Linked DNA regions of Homo sapiens: all the other regions are linked to region 3. Evidence: promoter capture Hi-C in human tissues and cell types (Jung and others, 2019). All regions are on one chromosome and are shown on one strand. Each heading gives the region's core, a stretch centred on a gene start or on the middle of the fragment in contact. The rest is flanking DNA. Distances are from core to core; before and after follow the strand shown. Region 1 holds the start of TULP2 (TUB like protein 2). Region 2 holds the start of LOC124904737 (a long non-coding RNA gene). Region 3 holds the start of CYTH2 (cytohesin 2).

Region 1 (4,491 bases), core at 1,819-4,318, 430 kb after region 3:
TCGAGACCAGCCTGACCAACATGGAGAAACACCGTCTCTACTAAAAACACAAAATTAGCCGGGCTTGGTGGCGCATGCCTGTAATCACAGCTACTCGGGAGGCTGAGGCAGGAGAATCGCTTGAACCCGGGAGACGGAGGTTGCGGTGAGCCGATATCCTGCCATTGTACTCCAGCTTTGGCAACAAGAGCTAAACTCCGTCTCAAAAAAGAAAAAAAAATCACCCTGTTTCGCGGACCGCCCAAACCTTGAGACCCAGGTCCCAAACTGCATCCTAAGCCTCAAACAAGCACAGCCCTGCCGCTGGATTGTTGCGGGCTCCGCACGTAAAGAATCTCGCGCCAGGCTCTCGTAATGAGACCGCGCCCCGCCCCGGACCCCTAGACCCCGTCTCCGCAATCCCGGGTTTGGGGTGGGGGTCCCGGCTTTCCCAGGCTCCACCACCGAGCTCTGCCAAGCCCAATCATCACATTCTCTTGCCCCTTTCCCCTGCTAGTTGTACCATGCCCCGCCCCTGCGCTCTGTAGCCCTGCCCCGAACCCCTCCCTCACAGGTCCTGCCGCGGGGGGCCCCCACAAGCCTCTCCCCTGGGCGCCCACAGGCCCTGTTCTAAAGCTCTCCTGGGCCAAGGCCCGCCCCCATCCACTGCCAAGTCCCCACCCTAAGGCTCCACCCCTTCATCCACTAGGCCCCGCCCACAGACTCCCACAGGCCCCTCCCCTCCAGGCGAACGCCCCCAGGGGTCTTTGGTCACCTCTGTCACCTAAAAGGCGCTCCTCCCGCAGACAAGAGCGCCAAAGCCACGGGGAAGCGTCAGGATTGGCCTGAACCATGAGGAGCTCCTGGCGCTTCTGTCGCTGCTTCTTTTCAAACAGCCGCCGCTGGGGAGATGGGAGAGGTGGGTGTCCGGGACAGGAACCAGATGGGAAGACAGAAGTGAGGTGGGGCCTGGGGCAAGGGCTCGCATCGGCGCGAGAGTTCGTGAACCCCTTCCTCCACTGGGGCCCACACGTCCAGGCCCTCAGTTCTTCAGCAGCTCCTCCCTTATTCCACCGTTGGACTCAGATCCAAGAGTCCTGACACCCTGTCCTCTCATCCCCCAGGACCCAGGAGTCCTGCCTTCTAGAAGCCTTGTTCCTTAGAAATTCATCACAAGGGTTTGTTTGCTTCTTTAGAACCCCCAATTCCTATTTTCTTTTCTTTTTCCTTTCTTACTTTTTTTTTTTCTTTTTGAGACAGAGTCTGGCTCTATCGCCCAGGCTGGAGTGCAGTACCACGATCTCCGCTCACTGCAGCCTCCGCCTCCCGGATTCAAACGATTCTCCTGCCTCAGCCTCCCGAGTAGCTGGGATTACAGGCGCCTGCCACCACACCTGGCTAATTTTTTGTGTGTTAGTAGAGACGGGGTTTCGCCGTGTTGGCCAGGCTTGTCTTGAACTCCTGACCTCAAGTGATCCGCCCACCTCAGCATCCCAAAGTGCTGTGATTACAGCCGTGAGCTGCCCTGCCCGGCCCCAAATTCCTATTTTCTCATTTCTCAGTGGGAAAACTCAAGGATGAGAGACAGCCAACACGGGCTGGGAGTCCTAGAGCAAGACCTGGTGGAGAGGCCCCTGGGGAGGCACAGAAGGCGGAAGAGTTGGAGTGGTGAGATTCCTGGGCACAATACCTGCTGTTCCAGCTTCTGCAGCCTCATAGCAGCGAGCTCATGCCCCAGGATGCTGAGAGAGACACAGGCCCATGGTGACAGTGCACAGGGAACCTCGGTTGCCCAAGAGAGTCCCTCCTTCCCCCATCCTGCCCCTATCTCAGCTTGGGTTCTGGGCACCTGTGAGGTCACAGGAGGTGCAGAACCTGAGCCTGCTCCACCAGTTATAGGGCCCTTTCTCCTGGCACTGGCCCACAGAAGCCGGGACCCAGAGATCCCAGGTCCCTCCTGTCTCAGGATTCAGGAGTCTGGGGCCCCCAACCCCTTCTCTTTCAGACCCAGAAGTCTGCACCCTAGCCCCATCCCTTCAGGACACAGGAGTCCAGGTCCCCAGCCCCTTCCTGCAAGGCCGATGGTGCTGAACCTGCAAACATGGTTATGAAGCCAGAGCCGAGTGCACGGGGTCCCCAGCCCTTTCCACCTCCACCCCTACCCATCTGTTTCCCTACTCACTCTCTCATCAATGTGTCATTATCCTGAGACATTCTGCAGAAGCAAGAATGAGGAGTCAGGATCAGAACCAACATCCCAATGGATCCTGCCCACCAGCACCTAATCTTTAGCCTTATTTATTTATTTATTTATTTATTTATTTATGTATTTAGAGACAGCTGAGCCTCGCTCTGTCGCCCAGGCTGCAGTGCAGTGGCGCCATCTCGGCCACTGCAACCTCCACCTCCTGGGTTCAAGCGATTCTCCTGCCTCAGCCTCCCGAGTAGCTGGGACTACAGGCGTCCGCTATTCTGCCTAATTTTTTTGTATTTTAGTAGATACCGGTTTTCACTATGTTGGCCAGGCTGGTGCCGGACTCCTGACCTCAGGTGATCTGCCCGCCTTGGCCTTCCAAAGTGCTAGGATTACAGGCATGAGCCACAGTGCCCGGCCTGATCCTTACCTTTAAATTTGCTTCCGGACCCAGGCAGCCCGAATCCCAGCACCCACTCCTGTCGGGATCTAGTAGCCTGTTTCCAGCTTCCCACGGGGGTCCGCAAGTCCGCTTCTCTCTCCCCCAAATATCTAATTCTCCAGCACCCAGGCATCAGAACTCAGGACTGTGCACTTCAAACACCCAGCCCCCAGCGGCCTAGAACTCCACTGCCCACCTGCCTGGGATCCGGGAGACTTGTTCTCCTCACCAGGTGCCTGGAGAGGCTGCTCACATTGATGCCTCGGTACCTTGCCTCTCTGGCCAATCTCTAAACATACCTGATCCTCTCTTTGGAAGCTGGGGACCTAATCTCGGGATATCTGCGAAATAGGGAGGAGAAGAAAGACGGCTCAGAGGGAGGGAGGATTCCCTCTGGGACCTGAACTGGTCCACTCCCTTCTGACCCTCCACTCTCCACTTCCAACAAAGTAACGAACTCGGTCACTGATGCAGCCAGGCAACCCTGCTCCGGGGGTTCTGAACACGAATGCCGTGTGGGGGTTCCTTAAAGAGACCAGAGACCGGCCCGGCGCGGTGGCTCACGCCTGTAATCCCAGCACTTTGGGAGGCCGAGGCGGGCGGATCACGGGGTCAGGAGATCTAGACCATCCTGGCTAACATGGTGAATCCCCGTCTCTACTAAAAAAAAATATATATATATACACAAAAAAATTAGCCGGGCGTTGTGGCGGGCGGGCGCCTGTAGTCCCAGCTACTCGGGAGGCTGAGGCAGGAGAATGGCGTGAACCCGGGAGGCGGAGCTCGCAGTGAGCTGAGATCGCGCCACTGCACTCCAGCCTGTGTGACAGAGGTAGACACCGTCTCAAAAAAAAAAAAAAAAAGAGAGAGAGAGAGCGGGAGACCAGAGACCTCGCGGCCTCACTGTACACATCTCGCTTACAAGAAACTTAAAAGAGGCGGGGCGCAGTGGCTCACGCCTGTAATCCCAGCACTTTGGGAGGCGGAGACGGGGAGGCAAGATTGCTTGAGTCCAGGAGATCCAGATCCAGACCAGCAACACAGAGATTTTTTTTTTTTTTTGAGACGTAGTCTCACTCTGTCGCCCAGGCTGGAGTGCAGTGGCGCGATCTCGGCTCACTGCAACCTCCGCCTCCCGGGTTTAAGAGATTGTCCTGCCTCAGCTTCCTGAGTAGCTGGGATTACAGGCATGCGCAACCACGCCTGGCTAATTTGTATTTTTAGTGGAGGCGAGGTTTCTCCATGTTGGCCAGGCTGGTCTCAAACCCTTGACCTCAGGTGATCTGCCTGCCTCAGCCTCCCAAAGTGCTGGGATTACAGGAGTGAACCCCCAAGCCCGGCTTGACATCCGTCTCTTTAAAAAACAACAACAACAAAGTGTGAGAAGTGTGAAAGACAGAACGTTAAAAAAAAAAAAAGGCTAAAAAAGAATTAAAGATTTAAATATTTGTATTAAAAATTTAAAAAATATACATTAGCCAGGCATGGTAGTGTGGCCTGTGGTCCCATCTACTTGGGAGGCTGACGCGGGAGGATTGCTTGGGCCTGGGAGGTAGAGGCTGCAGTGAGAAGTGATTGCGCCACTGCACTCCAACCTGGGTGACAGAGCAAACCCTGTCTCGAATAATAAGAAGAAGAAGAAAGAAACTCATAAGAAAGGCTATGCAATTGCTACCGCGCTATAACTTCCAGGCACTTCGTGGGGCGAAAATAAATGGGAAAACTACAGCTCCCATGAGGCGAAGGGGCCACGATGCCCGCGGAAGTTATTTTTCCCCCGGCCGGCAGGGAGTTGTAGTTATCTTTGAAAGCCTTCTCTCTCTTTTGGCATAGGCGGGAAATGTGGCGTCAAGAGGCTGGGATTCCGAGAAAGAAG
Region 2 (4,569 bases), core at 1,446-3,945, 260 kb after region 3:
GTAGTGAGGTCAGCCTGTCAAAAGTGGTGATGATTACTTTTTTTTTTATTTCGTTTAATTTTATTTTACTTTTTTGAGATGGAGTCTGTCTCTGTCGCCCTGGAGTGCAATGGTGCGATTTCAGCTCACTGCAACCTCCGCCTCCCGGGTTCAAGCGATTCTCCTCCCTCAGCCTCCTGAGTAGCTGGGATTGCAGGCACGCGCTACCATACCCAGCTAATTTTTGTATTTTTAGTAGAGACGGGGTTTTACCATGTTGGTCAGTCTGGTCTCAAACTCCTGACCTCGCGGTCTGCCCACCTTGGCCTCCCAAAGTGCTGGGATTACAGGCGTGAGCCACTGCATCCGGCGTTATATTACTCTTTTGAGACAGAGTCTCGCTCCATCTCCCGGGTTGGAATGCAGTGGCATGAAGTAATCTTGGTTCACTGCAACATCCGCCTCCCAGGTTCAAGTGATTCTTGTGCCTCAGCCTCTCCAATAGCTGGGATTATAGGCGCAGGCCACCATGCCTGGCTAATTTTGTATTTTTAGTAGAGATGGGGTTTCACCATGTTGGCCAGGCTGCTCTCAAACTCCTGACCTCAAGTGATCCACCCGCCTTGACCTCCCAAAGTGCCGGGATTACAGATGTGAGCCACCGCGTTTGCCCAGGTGATGATTACAAAGGAAAAGAAGCCAGAAAGGCAGGAAGTGATGTAAGCTCTAACAAGTGGTGTCAGAACAGCAAAGTCCTTGGGTGAGATGGGATGTCATGTCAGAGAAAAGCAGAAAATCTTGAGTCAAATAGTGACATCAGAGCCACACAGTGTAGTTCAAACAAGAAGTGATGTTACCACAAACAGGAAGTGATATTACGTGAAACAGGAAGTGATGCTATGTCAAACAGGAAGTAAGAGGCAAGGGCCAACCTTGGTGAGGTAGTAGACAGACTGCTGGAAGGTACACATGATGACCTCATCCAGGAGGGCCATGGCCTCATCACATAATTCCAAGTCATTGCAGAGCTGTGGGTCTGAGGACAGGCTTGGGGTTAAGAGGGAGAACCAGAAGTCGGCAGCCAGGAGCCCAGGTCCCCAGGTGCAGGGCATGATGGGAGACTTGGACAAGCCTGAGCCTGAGTCAGAGCTCACCCTCTTGGTCAGCCTCCTTCTCCATTTCCAGCACCTTCTCCTGCACAAAGCTAAGCAGCTCCGTGGTGTTGGCCATCCACAGCATGAGTGGCCGCAGCTCCACAGACACAGCTTCAGGAGTCAGGGGCACCTCGGGGACCCCCTCAGGGTGGCTTGAAAAAGAGGAAGGAATTTGTGATCCCTGCCCAACCCTCATCATAGTTTACAAACCCCAAGATCTAAGTCTAAGTGGGAGAGCAAGACCAACTCCCATTGCGCAGCTGGAAAAGTTGAGCGCAAGGAGAAGCAGAAACTTGCACTGGGGCATGCATGGGGTGAACACAGAACTAGACGCAAAACCCAACCCCTGCATCCCTCCAGACCACTCTGCTCAGAATTTCTCTTACTTTTCTGGCTGACGGTCTCCAATTTCCTTAATCTTTTCCTGTGGAACAGTAAGATCAGAATCAAGGTGAGGGGGATCCACTGAGGGGCTTAAGAGTTAATACCCTGGTTTTTATAGAAGCACAACTCTCATAGAGACTGGTCCTACTTTTCTTAGAGATGGGGTCTTACTATGTTGCCACCGGTGGTCTCCAACTCCTGAGCTCAAATGATCCTCCCACCTTGGCCTCCCAAAGAACTAGGATTACAGGCATGAGCCACTGCAACCGGCCTTCACTCTTCATACGGATTCTTTTTTTTTTTTTTTTTTTTTGAGATGGAGTTACCCTGTTGTTGCCCAGGCTGGGGTGCAATGGCTCAATTTTGGCTCACTGCAACCTCTGCCTCCCAGGTTCAAGTGATTCTCCTGCCTCAGCCTCCCAAGTAGCTGGGATTACAGGCATGTGCTACCATGCCCGGCTAATTTTTTGCATTTTTAGTAGAGACGGGGTTTCACCATGTTAGCCAGGATGGTCTCGATCTCCCGACTTCAGGTGATCTGCCCGCCTCGGCCTCCCAAAGTGCCGGGATTACAGGCATGAGCCACCACGCCTGGCTCTTGAGACAAATTCTAATCCCACAAGCTTTAGAATGGTCTCTCCTTACTTTTTAAAACATACACACCCTATGATTATGAGTGATCTAGCTCCTTCAGGTCCTCTTCTCCAATTTTTACCCCCAAGAAACTCCTTAAACCTCTCTGGTTAGGCCCTAGCTCAATAGGATGGAACGTTTCCCCCACTCTGAATGGTTTCTTTCTGGAACTTCCATCTGTAGGTCCAGTGGATTTGTGCTTCCTCGCCTCCAAGAATGAACTCGCTCACTGCTATCCAAGCTCCAAGCCCAATGGGCTGCGGTGAATTCTCACACTGATCTCTGTCAACTTCTCATCCAGTGGGATCTCTCCCCCACCATCTCCCATAATGGTTTCTTCCTAAGGTGAGTTCGTGCTTAGGTGAGCTCTCCTAAGGTGAGTTTGGGCTTCCCTCTAAGTGCAGTGGATCTACATCTCCCAGCATTCTATGGGGGGGCCCCTTGCTTAATAACCCCAAAACACCGGGTGTGGTGGCTCACACCTGTAATCCCAGCACTTTGGGAGGCCGAGGCGGGCGAACCACGAGGTCAGGAGTTCCAGACAAGCCTGGCCAATATGGTGAAACCCCGTCTTACTAAAAATACAAAAAATTAGCCGGGCGTGCTGGCAGGCGCCTGCAATCCCAGCTACTCGGGAGGCTGAGGCAGAAGAATCATTTGAACCCCGGAGGTAGAGGTTGCAGTGAACCAAGACCGCCACTGCACTCCAGCCTGGGTAACAGAGCGAGACTCCGTCTCAAAAACAAAAGCAAACAAACAAACAAACAAAACCCAAAACCCCAAATCCTTCCCGAGGCGTCATGGGAACAGTAGTATCCAGCCCAGCTATGAAAAGGGTTGAAGGTAGGGAAGGGAGGCTGGAGAAGGGACTTGGGGCGCTGGTGGGGCTGGACGGCGATTGGGGGGCGCTCACCCAGACGGCCTCCTTGATGAGCCGGGCCAGGCGGCCCAGCAGTCGTGGCAGGTGGCCCAGCTCCAGCTCACGGGCGGAATGCTGCACGCACAGCGCCAGCAGCGTGGCGGGCCCGAGGGGCGGCAGGTCTCCCGAGCCGGCGGCTGCGGCGCGCACGATCTCGCCCAGCAGCGCCTCCTCCTCGCGCGGCCGGAAGCGCAGGACTGGCTCACGGCCGTCCAGGTAGGCGGCCAGTGCCTCGCCGCGCTCCTGCAGGCCGCGGCCGCACAGGCGACAGGAGAAGGCCCAGCCAGGGCCTGGCGGCGTGGCCCCGGGGCGCGCGGGCAGCCACGGCGGCCTCGCAGGCCCCGAGCCCCCAGTGCGGGGGTCCTTGTACATGAACAGGAAGTGCTCGCCCAGCCCCAGGAGGTCGCCCGGGTGCAGCTCAGCCTCCCGCAGCAGGAGGCACCCGTTGTGCGTGACTGGGGCGCCCCGGGACGGGCGCACCATGGCCGGGTGCTCAGGGCCCGCGCGCACTGTGCAGTGACGCGGCAGGATGTCCGGGGCGTTGAGGAAGGTGTCCACATAGGGAGCCGGGGACCCCCCGCGGCCAGACGAGTTCCCACCTCGCCCAAACACGTGCTGCTCTCGCGTCATCACATACACCACAAAGTCCTGGAGGGGAAACGAGGATGCACTAAGGACATCACTTCAATCCATATCTTCAGATCTGTTCTCTCTGTTTTCTACAACAACTTTTCTATTCCCACCAACTTTTTTTTTCCTTCTTCTTCTTTTTTTTTTTTTTTTTTTTTTTGAGATGGAGTCTCGCTCTGTCCTCCAGGCTGGAGTCCAGTGGCACGATCTCGGCTCACTGCAACCTCTGCCTCCTGAGTTCAAGCAATTCTCCTGCCTCAGTCTGTTGAGTAGCTGGGAGTACAGGCGCCTGCCACCACACCCGGCTAATTTTTGTATTTTTAGTAGGGAAAGGGTTTCACCATGTTGGCCAGGCTGGTCTTAAACTCCTGATCTCAGGTGATCCACCTACCTCGGCCTCCCGAAGTGCTGGGATTACAGGCGTGAACTATCGCGCCCGGCCCCCCACCGACTTTGAATAGACACTCCAAGGAGATCTGGATCTCAAAGGACTCTCTAAGCACCCGCAACGCCACTGAGTGGACTCTTCCCAGGCACTTTGTATGGTGGATGGTCCCATAACACCCATCCCGAAGACCGGCTATGTACAAGGAGACCCCCCTTTTTTTCTTTGAGACAGAGTCACGCTCTGTTGCCAGGCTGGAGTGCAGTGGCACGATCTCGGCTCACTCCAACCTCCGCCTCCCGGGTTCAAGCGATTCCCCTGCCTCAACCTCCCGAGTAGTTGAGACTACAGGCGCGCACCATCACGCCCAGCTAATTTTTGTATTTTTAGTAGGGACAGGGTCACCATGTTGGCCAGGATGGTCTCGATCTCTTGACCTTGTGATCCGCCTGCCTTGGCCTCCTAAAGTGCTGGGATTACAGGTG
Region 3 (4,529 bases), core at 1,957-4,456:
TCCGCCTCCCGGCTTCAAGTGTTTCTCCTGCCTCAGTCTCCTGAGTCGCTGGGATTACAGGCATGAGCCACTATGCCTGGCTAATTTTTGTATTTTTAGTAGAGACGGGGTTTCGCCATGTTGGCGAGGTTGGTCTTGAACTCCCGACCTCAGATGATCCACCTGCCTCGGTCTCCCAAAGTGCTGGGATTACGGGTGTGAGCCACCATGCCCAGCCGTGTGTCTGTTTCTTAAAGATATTATACATATGTATATTATATATATGTAATATAAATACAGATATCTATCTATTTTTTCCCTTGGTCCCTACAACAGGCTTAGAGATGGAGTGCTAGCTAATTGGAATGAGGTCCTTTTCAAGGACCCCAGAAGCTTTGCTCTAAATCCCAATGCTGCCCCAACTTACTGTGTCACTTTGGACTCCTCTTCATGTCAGTTTCCCCATCTGTAAAAACGGGATATTGGAACTTGAAGTTCTTCAGGGGCCTTTCCAGCAGGATGAGTCCTCACTACACCAAGGGTGGGATGGGCATTCGAGTCCTGGGGATTTCCCTCCTCTCCCCAGTGCTGGATCATACGGCCTTCCAGGAGACGCTGGGATGTAAGATACTCTTGGAGGCTGGCTCTGAACTCGGGTGTCTGAATCACAGGGCAAGGGTAGGCGTGGGCTGTGGCTAACAGCCAGAGTCACTTCCCTGGCCTAGCTTGGGGACCTGGGGAGGAGGAGGTAGCTCTGGACACCAGGGTTCTTCCCATTGTGGGAGAGTGAGTGTTTTAGGGGGAGACCTGTCCCCCAGATTAAAGAACTGGGAGCCCTAGCGGATGTGTCTGCGAATGTGTTTCTCGAGCATGGGTCCTCCGACCTGGCCCCCTGCCCATGCTACCATCTACCTAAGTGCCCCGCAGGCTGGGAGCCAACTGCAGAGGGAGCCAGTGACAGTGAGGAGGACGTGTTCCCACCCCGTGTTCTGGACCGAGGGCAGCCACTGTCATTGCCATTCAGCCTTCACAAGTGCTGCATCAACCCAAATGCCCCCTCCAGCTTCTCCATCTCCCTTTATCCCTCAGAATCCCCATGTAATAACCGGATGGGATTAATTAGCTGGCTGCTCTCTCAGCTCAGGGTGTCTGGGGTAGGTAGGGATGGGGGCAATGGAAACGCAGGGTTGGGGAAGGATGTTAAGTTGGAAGTGAAGGGGCAGGGAGGGGGTTTCGTTTGAAAGGAGTATGGGAGCAGGGCAGCCCAGCCTGGGTTTCCACTGGGGAGGGCAGGGCCTGGGCCACTCATAAAGGTCAGTGAGGGGATTAGGAGCCTCCATGTCTAATCCGACAGCTTAACTAGGTCCTGGCCCTGAATCCGTCTCCACCTGCCCAGCCCAGGGACAGCAAATGAGGACGAGGCCCAGACACCACTTCAGCCCCCATTACGGCTTCCCTCTTTACAGGGGTGCCTGGGTTCCCTATTCCAGCCAGTCCCTTGACCACATTCCGTTACAAATAATGGGACATAGAGGCTGGGGAAGGGGAAGGGGAAGGGGCCTCAGAGGAGGGAGGAGTTTAAGAAGGGCAAGGGTGGCTGGGCACGGTGGCTCACGCCTATGGGCACGGTGGCTCACGCCTAGCACTTTGGGAGGCTGAGGCGGGTGGATCACCTGAGGTCAGGAGTTTGAGACCAGCCTGGCCAACATGGCGAAACCCCGTCTCTACTAAAAATACAAAAATTAGCCGGGCATGGTGGTGGGCGCCTATAATCCCAGCTCCTTGGGAGGCTGAGGTAGGAGTATCGCGTCAACCTTGTGGGTGGAGGTTGCAGTGAGCTGAGATCATGCCAGTTCATTCCAGACTGGGCAAAAGAGCAAAACTCTGTCTCAAAAAAAAAAAAAAAAAAAAAAAGGGCAAGAGTATGAGAGGACAAGGGGGACCGTGACGTGAGGGGAGCCAGAGAGGAAAAAAGGCCTCTGAGATGGGAGAAGGAATCAGAGAGGTGGGAGGATGCTGAGGAAAGGGGAGTTGTCTTAGCAGGAGGATGCTTGGGGAAGGGAGGAGTCTTAGGAGGATGCTAAGCTAAAGGAAGGAGTTTGGAGAAATGAGGGAGGAGTCTGAGCGGCAGAAGGTGCCAGGAAGGCCGAGCCTGTGCTTTCACTAAATTTCACCTTCCCCTGTTCCATTCCCCATGACCGATACCAAATAGCATAGCATTTAGAAAAAAGTAAATCTTGGCCAGGCGCGGTGGCTCACGCCTGTAACCCCAGCACTTTGGAGGGCCAAGGTGGGCGGATCATGAGGTCAGGAGTTCGAGACCAGCTTGGCCAACATGGTGAAACGCCCGTCTCTATTAAAAATACAAAAAATAGCCAGGCATGCACCATCATGGTGCAACCCTGTAATCCCAGCTACTCGGGAGGCTGAGGCAGGAGAATTGCTTGAACCCGGGAGGCGGAGGTTGCAGTGAACCGAGATCGCGCAACTGCACTCCAGCTTGGGCGACAGAGCAAGACTCTGTCTCAAAAAAAAAAAAAAAAGAAAAAACGAAGAAGTCTTTTGTTTCACCACTCCACGACTCCGAAGAGGCTGAGGGGGATGGGGAGGGCATAGATGGTGATAAAGAAGGAGTTCGGCGGTAAGAAGGGGCTGAGAGGAGGGGAAATACGCGGAGAAGAAATGCAAAAGAAAAGGAGGCCTAAAGCCGCTCCCGGTTGCATGGCAACCTTTGCGGTCAGAAGCCAGCATGGCCTGCTAGGAGGTGTGGCTTACGGAAACAAGCCAGTTCTAGCCCCGCCTCCTAGCAACAAGACTAACAAAGTACCGCCCCCTAGCAACGTATTATCGGAGGCGGGGCTCGGTTTACCTAGACTCCAAGTGTCCAGGGCCTTTGAGCAGGCGCAGAGGTGGCTGTACCGCGTGGCTCCGCCTCCGCGCGACACTTTTCCGGGGCTTCTCATTGGAGAGCAAGCCTGTCAAGTGCTTTCTGTTGTTTCGGAGGCGGGGCCTGCTGCCCTGCCTGCACTCCGATTGGCCCCGCGGGCCGTCTACCTCTGGCCGGACATACCTACACCGGCTTTTTGTACGACTGTTGGCCCTGGAGAACGATCCTTTGGTGGCGAGGGCGGGGAGGACGAAAGCGCCCACTGTGGATTGGACAGTGTCAAAAAGAGGGGCGGTCCCTACTGAAGGGGCGGTTGGGCGACGAAGGGAAGAGTCTTTTCAGCGCTGAGGACTGGCGCTGAGGAGGCGGCGGTGGCTCCCGGGGCGTTTGAGCGGGCTCACCCGAGCCCGCGGGCCAACGCGGATCCAGGCCCGACTGGCGGGACCGCCCCGGATTCCCCGCGGGCCTTCCTAGCCGCCATGGAGGACGGCGTCTATGGTAGGTCGGGGAGGGGCGGGGTCGGCTGGGAGTTGCTGGAGCGTTTTCTCCTGAACGTTCCGCCGCGAACGTTTCCCCCTGGCGCGCGGCGCCCAGAAGCGTTCGGCTCAGTCGTAGACTTGTCGCGCCGCTTTTGTTGGGCGCTGGACGGGCTTCCGGCGGGGCCCGAAAGCCGGGCGTTCCAGGCCATTGTTTGGGCTGAGCCTGTTTCCGGTGGCGGCGGGAGGGGCGGGATGGAGTGGTGGAGGCGAGGCCGGGGCGGAACCATTCCCGCTGGAGGGGCGGGCGAGCCCAGCGCCTGCCGGGGCCGGGGAGGGGCGCTTGGGTTGCGGGGAGGGGAGAAATCTTGGGGGGCGGGGGCCTTCGATGTCCCGCCCCACCTTCCCAACTCTCCTGAGCTGTCATCAGTTCCCCCGGCTGTAGTGACTTTTCATGGACCCAGTAGTCCGGATAACCAGGTCCCCAGCTACCTCGCCAGTAATGGAGTCAGAAAACCAAGGCCTCAGTCCCCTTCCAAGTAATGGACCTAGAAGCCGAGGCCCCCAGCCCTTTCTTCCCTCAGATCTAAGAGCTCAGGCACCCATTCCCCTTCTCCCTCAGACTCAGGAATCCGGGCCCCAATTCCCCTTGTCCCCCAGGACTCAAGAGTTTAGAGCCCCAGCTCTTTCTCCTCTGCAGGGAGGAATCCAGGCCCCCAGCCCATTCTTCTGTGCAGACATAGGAAGCCCCTTACACATCCTCTCCCAGCTCTGTCCGCCCCCAGATTGCAGGAATTCAGGCTCACGGCCCCTAGCACTGACTTTTAAACCTTGACCCCGATCCCTAGAACCCCCAGACCTGACTCCGGAGGAGCGGATGGAGCTGGAGAACATCCGGCGGCGGAAGCAGGAGCTGCTGGTGGAGATTCAGCGCCTGCGGGAGGAGCTCAGTGAAGCCATGAGCGAGGTGGAGGGGCTGGAGGCCAATGAGGGCAGGTGAGGGCTGGGGCGGATGACCTAGGGGGCGTGGGGTTGGCTGAGGCCAGGGATGCCCAGGCATTGACCCTCCACCCCCAACCCTGCTCTCTGCTCCTGCAGTAAGACCTTGCAACGGAACCGGAAGATGGCAATGGGCAGGAAGAAGTTCAACATGGACCCCAAGAAGGTGCTTGGGGCCACAGGACTGG

What was found. The method cuts DNA at HindIII sites, captures the fragments that hold promoters and counts their contacts. A contact is called where the count stands out against the background at its distance.
Region 1: the fragment with the promoter of TULP2 here is called in contact with the fragment with the promoter of CYTH2 in region 3 in 1 of the 25 tissues and cell types used here (neural progenitor cells).
Region 2: a fragment that was not itself captured here is called in contact with the fragment with the promoter of CYTH2 in region 3 in 1 of the 25 tissues and cell types used here (pancreas).

What each region holds. Positions count from the first base shown.
Region 1 is chr19:48,895,676-48,900,166 of GRCh38, forward strand. It overlaps TULP2 (TUB like protein 2), which reads right to left and starts at 3,069. Exons shown (of 13, transcript NM_003323.3): 1 at 2,915-3,069; 2 at 2,162-2,194; 3 at 1,670-1,721; 4 at 755-881. The coding sequence starts at 2,193. RefSeq lists enhancers at 1-16, 2,464-3,279, a silencer at 443-582 and a cis regulatory region at 2,814-3,813. The HindIII fragment of the contact is 17,343 bases long and covers 1-4,491 here.
Region 2 is chr19:48,725,874-48,730,442 of GRCh38, forward strand. RASIP1 (Ras interacting protein 1) reads right to left here. Exons shown (of 12, transcript NM_017805.3): 5 at 3,064-3,717; 6 at 1,520-1,557; 7 at 1,134-1,285; 8 at 912-1,015. It overlaps LOC124904737 (a long non-coding RNA gene), which reads left to right and starts at 2,271. Exons shown (of 2, transcript XR_007067286.1): 1 at 2,271-2,495. The HindIII fragment of the contact is 9,581 bases long and covers 1-4,569 here.
Region 3 is chr19:48,466,163-48,470,691 of GRCh38, forward strand. It overlaps CYTH2 (cytohesin 2), which reads left to right and starts at 3,207. Exons shown (of 12, transcript NM_004228.7): 1 at 3,207-3,364; 2 at 4,191-4,338; 3 at 4,441-4,507. The coding sequence starts at 3,346. LOC105372430 (a long non-coding RNA gene) reads right to left here and starts at 3,371. Exons shown (of 3, transcript NR_186576.1): 1 at 2,849-3,371; 2 at 407-445. It overlaps KCNJ14 (potassium inwardly rectifying channel subfamily J member 14), which reads left to right. Exons shown (of 3, transcript NM_013348.4): 3 at 1-818. RefSeq lists enhancers at 2,308-2,808, 2,513-2,672, 2,866-3,859 and a silencer at 3,223-3,412. The HindIII fragment of the contact is 6,294 bases long and covers 1-4,529 here.